2 separate regions of the Homo sapiens genome follow, and region 2 is linked to region 1. Evidence: promoter capture Hi-C in 16 types of primary human blood cells and fetal thymus (Javierre and others, 2016). All regions are on one chromosome and are shown on one strand. The core of a region is centred on a gene start or on the middle of the fragment in contact, and the rest is flanking DNA. Distances in the headings are between cores, read along the strand shown. Region 1 holds the start of DIMT1 (DIM1 rRNA methyltransferase and ribosome maturation factor). Region 2 has its middle 260 kb from the start of CWC27.

Region 1 (4,023 bases), core at 381-2,880:
ATTACCTCAATAACATTTGGTGCAAATGAAAATCTAAGACCTCTCCTAACTTGGAGGAATACTGTTCAACTTTAGGAGTCAGAAAAGCAGCAACAGCATTTCTGGGATTGGCATTCTGCTTTCTATCTGGAAATATTCCAATAGCCTCTTGTTACCTTCTCTGTTCGTATCAACAAGTTCAAATGGGAAAGGACTGTACGTGTTGGGCGAAGATTTTTCAATTTTCAACCCATGTATGGTTTCAAGGATGCAGAAGAGCAGAAACTGTACACAAAATTGAATGTCTGCACACAGCTCTAATATTCTACGGCCATAGCTTTCATCAGATGCTCAAAGGAAACTATGAGCTAAAAAGGTTAAAATAGTACATGACCCTTCTTTCTTTTTTTCTCAGTTTTCAAATGACACGAAGCCTGACAAGATCCTTTAACTATGTAATGCTCTTTCTACAGCTCCAGGATGCTTTCCTTGCTTTTAACCATAAGTGTAATCTGCACCGTGTGTATTTCACTTCCTAACACCCAATCATCCATAACCATAAGAGAACATCAATAACTCAGAAAGCAGTAATACTCCAAGCAATTTATATGTGGTACTAGCATACACCAAATAATTTATATGTAGTACTATATGTTTTTCTGGGGAACAAACTTTCTAATGTGTAGTTTAGACATAAATAGATGGAGTACATAAAAACTAAGTGATCAAAAAGGTGATTAGAAATAGAAGAATAATTATCTTGAACAAATACAAAGGTCCAGCTATAAAGTAGATAATCCACAAAAAGACACAGAATTGGGAACCAGGAGAAACTCAGACCCACAAAATGAAGCTTATCATGCAGAAGACAGCCCAAGAATCCTAGACAATTATTTGATTCATTCAACAAATATTTACAGAGCATCTAATTTACGGCAGGCAGACTTTCTGCGCTTATGTATTCATAGGAATAAAATTAATAAACCAACAACTCTCTCCCTTTCCTCTTCCACACCCACCTTATCGATAATGCTGTTAATAATGAGAGGATTTTTCAAAATGTGCTGCCCAATCCCCGTGTTGAACATGAGTCCTGTAAGAAAATACGAAACAGCATTAATTTTCCTACTGAGATTAGATATTAGGCAGTACCAGAGAAGAAAGCTGCATGGGTATGGGGAAGATTTCTGCGCCAACCAGGGCCACGAAACGTCACGCCAGGACTGACAAACTCTTTATAAGTTCATCCTCCAGCTGGAAAGGAAGTCAGCGGCGACGCGCAGGGCCTGCGGCCGAGTCGGGGACCCACCCCTGCCTTCCGCGCTCACGGGAGCGCGTCCTGACCGGCCTCTGCCGATCAGGTCTTGGTCCGCACCCCAGGCTAGGTCCTGCCGGAAGACCTGACCCGACCGACCCCAGCTTCCTCGCGGGGATCCGCACCTCCAGCGCTCTTCAGCTCCCGGCGCTGCTCCTGCCGCCCGCGGCGGCGGCCGATGGCCCCCGACTTGACCTTCGGCATCTCGGCAGAAAGCGGGCCCACAGGCCCGGGACGTCAAGGAGGACCAAAGAGGGCTAGCGTGAGAAAGCCACCACGTGGGGATCGCCGCCACGCGCCGCCCGCACCACTCTGGCCCAAGCGCCGGAGGGGCAAGGGTCCGCCCCCTCCCGTACGCTCTGAGCTCCTCCTCCAGAAAAAGGGCGGACCTTGGAGCCCACTGACTGCCGGGAATTGGAGTCACAGAGGGAGGAAGGCCGAACCGCGGGAGCCTACAGATCCCAGAAGACACCGCGCTACCGAGGACTGCAGTCTGGAGTTGGAGCCCTTGTCCCAACCAGGGCTGGATAAGAAGGTGTTGGTGTGGTGCTCTCGGTGTTGCGAAGGCTGTTTAAGTTATATGATGAGGTTAAGCCTATGGATGTTTTAGTAGCCTAGGTTCTGGGATCGCTGAGGTCCAAAGAAGTATTCACGTGCCTCGCTCCTGTTTTCCTGAAGCTTGTGGGGGTGGGAAACCCGGGATTTGGGGATGAGCTTGCTCTTTTGTGGGAATGCATTTTTTGCTGCTTGCCCTGGGGAAAAGAACTGCGAGAATGGAATTAACGTCTGGTTTCGCTAGGGCTACTGGTTGCTTCTACTAAGAATAGAAGAGCCGGGCGCGGAGGCTCACGCCTGTAATCCCAGCACTCTGGGAGGCAGAGGCGGGCGGATCACAAGGTCAGGAGATCGAGACCATCCTGGCTAACACGGGGAAACCCCGTCTCTACTAAAAATACAAAAAATTAGCCGGGCGTGGTGGTGGGCGCCTGTAGTCTCAGCTACTTGGGAGACTGAGGCAGGAGAGTGGCGTGAACCCAGGAGGCGGAGGTTGCAGTGAGCCGAGATCGCGCTACTGCACTCCAGCCTGGGCGGCAGAGCGAGACTCCGTCTCAAAAAAAAAAAAAAAAAAAAAGGAATAGAAGAATAATTATCTTAAACAGATACAAAGCTCCAGCTACAAAGTAGATAATCCACAAAAAGACAGAATTGAGAACCAGGAGAAACTCAGACCCACAGAATGAAGCTTATCGTGCAGAAGACAGCCCGTGAATCCTAGAAAATTATTTGATTCATTTAACAAATAATTCAACAAATTCCTTTTGTGCCTCATCATTCACTCCGTAAACATTTATTGAGCTCCAACTGTGTATCAAACACTGCTAGGGATTCTAAGTAAGAAACTTATTTCAAAGTGTATTATATTGACAGAGATGGACAGAAACTCCAAAACGCTGTAAATACGATAACGTATTGGTCGTTGTGACAGGACAGTGTACCTGACTATAAACTCCGTGTGTACCAGGGCCATAATATCCACATCTGTTTTGCCAGCCAGTGTAATGGCTCTTTTAAATTTTTCTGTGTGTATTCTGTTTGGTTGAAGAAATAGCTTCTTCCTGTCATTACTAAAGCTAACTCTCTTTTGAGCAATTCATTGTGTACATTCCCAAACCTTGGTCTTAGGCCCTTCTTTCTTTGATGTAGTTCTAAGTCAGAAAAAAAATCTCGTATACCCTAGTAGCATCTTCAAGTATATGTTTCATTTCATCAATCATTGTTATTCCACAATTCTAAAGAGTACACTGTGCTAGGCACTTCCAAATGTTAATAGGATGGACATGGCCTGGAGAGGTGGCTCATGCCTGTAATCCCAGCACTTTGAGAGGCCAAGGCGAGCGGATCACTTGAGCTGAGAAGTTTGAGATCAACCTGGGCAACAAAGTGAGACCCCGTCTCTACAAAAAATACAAAAATTAGCCAGGCGTGGTGGTGCAGGCCTGTAGTCTCAGCTACTCGGGAAGCTGAGGTGGGAGCCTCACTTGAGCCCGAGAATTTGTAGTGAGCCAAGATTGCACCAACCTGGGCGACAGCATGATACCCTGTTTAAAAAAAAAAAATTAACATGACACAAAACCCTGTGTGTGATTTGTTATTGTTGTTGTTGTTGGGTTTTTTGGTTTTGTTTTTTTGAGACGGTCTCACTCTGTCACCCAGGCTGGAGTGCAGCGGCATGATCTCAGCTCACTGCAACCTCCGCCTGCCGGGCTCAAGCGATGCTCTCACCTCAGCCTCCCGAGTAGCTGAGACGACAGACATGAATCATCTTGTCCAGCTAATTTTTGTAATTTTTGTAGAGGCGGGGTCTCACTTTGTTCCCCAGGCTGATCTCAAACTTCTCAGCTCAAGTGATCTGCCTGCTTTGGCCTCTAGGTTGCATTTCTTCTGTGAAATAAAAGGCAAGTTTTTCTGTAGAGAAGGAGCTGTGGAGGTGGTAGGACAAGGGGCATGAGTGCGGAGAAGGTTTGAAGATCCTTTATGCGCAATGGGAGAGGAAGATTAGAGGGAACTCAAGAAGACATGGCATGTCTTCCAGCTAAATGTGGAGCCCAGTATCTCCAATGTGTACTGCTGTGTAACCACAGCCTGGAGACAAGAGCAGAGAAGGCAAAATTGTTCTTTTGATTCATCAATGAATGACCACTATTGCTCCCTAGAATAGCATTGTAGGC
Region 2 (4,023 bases), core at 1,034-3,533, 2.6 Mb after region 1:
CTGTAGAGGAGATAGAAGGCCCAAGCAGAGAGGCGGGATTTGGAGGAGAGGACCTGGAGATTGGATTTGATGAAATTGGTAGCTGCTGGAAGAGGAGGGTGATGGAAATGATGCTTAAGGAAGATAATTCTGTGTAAAGAGGGGGAAAAAATGCTGAAAGGAAAAGTTGTAGACAGGAAAAAGGATATTAGAAGAGTGCAGGTGTGTGTGTGAGGTAATTAAAGCCTGGACCAGACCCAGGCCTGGGAAGGCAACAGGAAGAAGCAGATCTGAAAAACATTACAGAAAAAGAACAGGAAGTCATGATGGGCTAGACAAGGGAGTGAAACTGCACATCACCCCAAGGCTGGAAACTCTGAGGCCTGGGAAAGCAGCCGCTGTCAGCCTCATCACAGTAATGAACCAAAGGACCCCTCCCCACAGCCTCACATCCAAGGGCTACAGCCAGGCCTACAGCCAGAGGGAACTCAGAGACCACAACACAACCCTCATATTCAGGTTCCTTAATTATTTTAATGCTACCTAAATTGAATTCCCTTTAAGCCCAGTTTCATGAAGTGATCAAGAATGCTAGATTAGGATTATCAGGTAGAAACAATTTCAGTGAAAAGTCTTAAAAACTAAGATGTAAAGTCTTAAAAAACTAAGATGTATAAGTAAATTAGATAAAATGAGATTATGAGAAATTGCACACCACCTGTTACCTGACAGATTAGCATTAGAGAAGCCTATTAACAGGCAGGAATAAAAGGCTGAATTCAAGAATTTATGATACTTTTTAAATCTCTAATTTATGAAACTTTAGAAGGTACAAGTCTTGGTTTAGATATTTCACAGAACTTTTTAAAATTCCAAATATCGTATTTGATAAGAATCAAGTTGATCTTGTAGTCACAAATTCCACTTTATTAGGATTTAAACTGTAATAGTTACATGATAGAGTATACTCCATCTTATTTTTTAAAATTCTCAATATCCATACACTTGACGGTTTTGCAATTTTGCAGTTTCAAATATTTTTAGCCCCAGGCCTATCAGCCCACACAGCCAGTTGTGTGCCCTTTATAAATACACCCAGATTTTCTCAAACTACTCCTTTGTTTATTTCAACAGAGAAAGAACCTTCAATAGAGACTAATCTCTCTTTGTTCATGGATTGGTACTGCACTGAGAATCTATCTCCATCCTGCTCCCGACAACACAGAATGTGAAATCGTAAATGTATTAATGTGCTTCAGAATCACCCTGCAGGAAGTGGAGGGGCAGGAATCTTGTCAAAATGAGTTTCCCAGGCCTCAGAAATGACAAGTCCGTTGATCTGGGTAGGGGTCCAGGAATCTGTTGCGTTTGTTTCTTTTTGAATAAGCTTACTCAACTAATTCTGATGCCTATTTTCTGAAAATCAGAAATCAGACTTAGACACTGCCCTAGAGCAGAAAACTGAAAGAATGAAAAACATCAAATGGACATGAGAATCTTAAATGGCAAAATAGGCTTTTTTTTTTAATCAAAGACTCATATTCTCTTAGGTATTTCTTTATATAATGAGCCCCTATGTAAATTTACCATATTCTTTGATATGCAAAATTTTTCACAGAAACTGCATAACATCAAATACACCTATACAATCAGAGAAGCCAAGAAGACAAGTAGGACAGCTTGTCTGTTCCCAATTCCCAGAACTTCCTACTACACCCCTTCCTGAACATAATGTTTACATGATGGGAAAATGCAATTAATGATCTTGGTAAGTCTTTCTAGTGCTCCAAGTTTAAGTCAGTCACTTATTTATAAGACAGAAAATAAAAAAATTTCACATCACTGAAACAATGAGTGATTTCTCCAGGTATTTAAATATAGCCTTCCAATAGCAATTATTTTATAGTAAAGATCTCAAACTTAGTAGACAGCAACTAGTTATTCGAAAAGCTAATCAGTGAAATGTCCCCTATCAAAGCATCAAGATTAGAGTATTTGTTCTCTATCTATAATCATATAACTGCTTCTTTTTTGGCAGCACAAACTATACCTACAAGAAAGATTAGTGGATTTTTTTCTGGTACTATAGTTCCATTTGCCTTAAACCTGACTCATTTTCCTAAACTTCTTTTTCCCAAAGATATAGGAAAGAAAATAAGAAATTTGGAGAATTTTACTAGAGACTCTTCATTACCTACGATGTCACAATTAAAAGTCTAATTTATCAACTTGCTTTGAATGATGCTTTTGAAACACATCAAGAATTTTATATGTAAGCCAAGTGGTTTTGACTTGAGTAGTAATTCTTTCCCACTTATCCATTCTCCTGCTACCTTCAAATCACATCTAGCAACCACAGGAAATGGTCTCATGCCTAGTGGGAGGGAGTTAGGACCAGATAGGATTGCAAAAGAAAACCCTTAGGAATTTTCAGAACATATACAACATCAGTACCTGTGTTCTGATACAGGTTAAAACAGAAAGATTCACTTCCACTGATCTCTTTCTTATCCCCCACATAAAAATATTAACCTTCAATATCTCATCTGAACCATTATATTGATCAGGGTAAGAAATAAACAGAAGATTCTTCTTTCACAAATTTCATTGATTCTACTACTTTAGTAGAATCATAGAATGCCTTTTGAGGCTTTTGAGCTTTTTCGCATCAGGAGTATTGCTAGTCCGTAGGCTGTCTTTGCATGAATTGGAAAACGGTAGCCGGTCCCCAAGGCATTTTACTTCCATATGTCAGAAAATTGTGATAATATACTTACTTTGTTAAAAAGAAACACTACTAAATCTGCAAGAAAAAAATCGTCATACTAAATATCAAAGCTATGTTGTTTGTGATGTGAATTATGTTTTTTAGACATGGCACCCTTATGCAGTGCTTACCTGTACAGCTCTTCCTCCCTCCGCCTTCACTGTCAGTCTTCTGCATTTGCTAGCCAGCCCAAATGCTCCTTAGACTCGTACTGAAATTCTGTTAAACGGCTCTCACGAAAACCACTCATGCTGTTCTTCCTGCCAAATCCAAGTCTACCTTCTTGGAATTATTTGCCTTCTCTTAATCCTGATTCTCTTCCTCCCTTTCCTACCAGCAATTCTTGTCCTGCACCTGTTTTCTGTGGACTCCATTCTTAGACTTCAGTTCTGAGGAATCTGGTCAGTCCTCCCTGAGATAAAATGGTCCTCATAGCTAACAGGTTTAGCATAGTGGAAGCTTCAGATGCTGTCTTTTCCACATGCCTTAACTTGTACCACTTAACTGTTTCCCACAGTGAAGATTCCAGTCAAATACTTGCCTTCCTGTAAAAACTTAGGGCACAGCCCTCCAGACTTAGTGACATAATCTGTGACTTGAGCCATATGTTGTTCCATGTCATCTGCAGAGGCCCATGGCTTGTTCCTAAAAAAGACCTAGAAGTCAGACTCCATAGGAACTAAAGAGTCCTCACTGCAATTGAGAGACAGGGCTAGCTGGATTTTCTAGGCCAACTAAGAATCCCTAAGCCTAGCTGGGAAGGTGACCACATCCACCTTTAAACACGGGGCTTGCAACTTAGCTCACACCCGACCAATCAGGTAGTAAGGAGAGCTCACTAAAAAGCTAATTAGGCAAAAACAGGAGGTAAAGAAATAGCCAATCATCTGTTGCCTGAGAGCACAGCAGGAGGGACAATGATCAGGATATAAACCCAGGCATTCGAGCCAGCAACGGCTACCCTCTTTGGGTCCCTCCCTTTGTATGGGAGCTCTGCTTTCACTCTATTAAATCTTGCAACTGCACTCTCTTCCAGTCCGTGTTTGTTAGGGCTGGAGCTGAGCTTTCGCTCGCCATCCACCACTGCCGTTTCCGGCCACTGCAGACCCGCCACTGACTTCCATCCGTCCAGATCCAGCAGGGAGTCCGCTGTGCTCCTGATCCAGTGAGGTACCCATTGCCGCTCCTGATCAGGCTAAAGGCTTGCCCTTATTCCTGCACAGCTAAGTGCCTGGGTTCGCCCTAATGGAGCTGAACACTAGTCACTTGGTTCCACA

What was found. Contacts are between HindIII fragments. The CHiCAGO score rates a contact against its expected background, and 5 or more counts as called.
Region 2: a fragment that was not itself captured here is called in contact with the fragment with the promoter of DIMT1 in region 1 in 1 of 17 cell types (total CD8 T cells); the score reaches 5.4 in total CD8 T cells.

Annotation. Positions count from the first base shown.
Region 1 is chr5:62,402,275-62,406,297 of GRCh38, forward strand. It overlaps DIMT1 (DIM1 rRNA methyltransferase and ribosome maturation factor), which reads right to left and starts at 1,631. Exons shown (of 12, transcript NM_014473.4): 1 at 1,420-1,631; 2 at 999-1,072. The coding sequence starts at 1,498. RefSeq lists an enhancer at 1,552-1,841. The HindIII fragment of the contact is 1,140 bases long and covers 831-1,970 here.
Region 2 is chr5:65,027,036-65,031,058 of GRCh38, forward strand. No RefSeq gene overlaps it. Among named protein-coding and RNA genes, the nearest start is that of CWC27, 260 kb to the left of the region's middle. The HindIII fragment of the contact is 1,839 bases long and covers 1,365-3,203 here.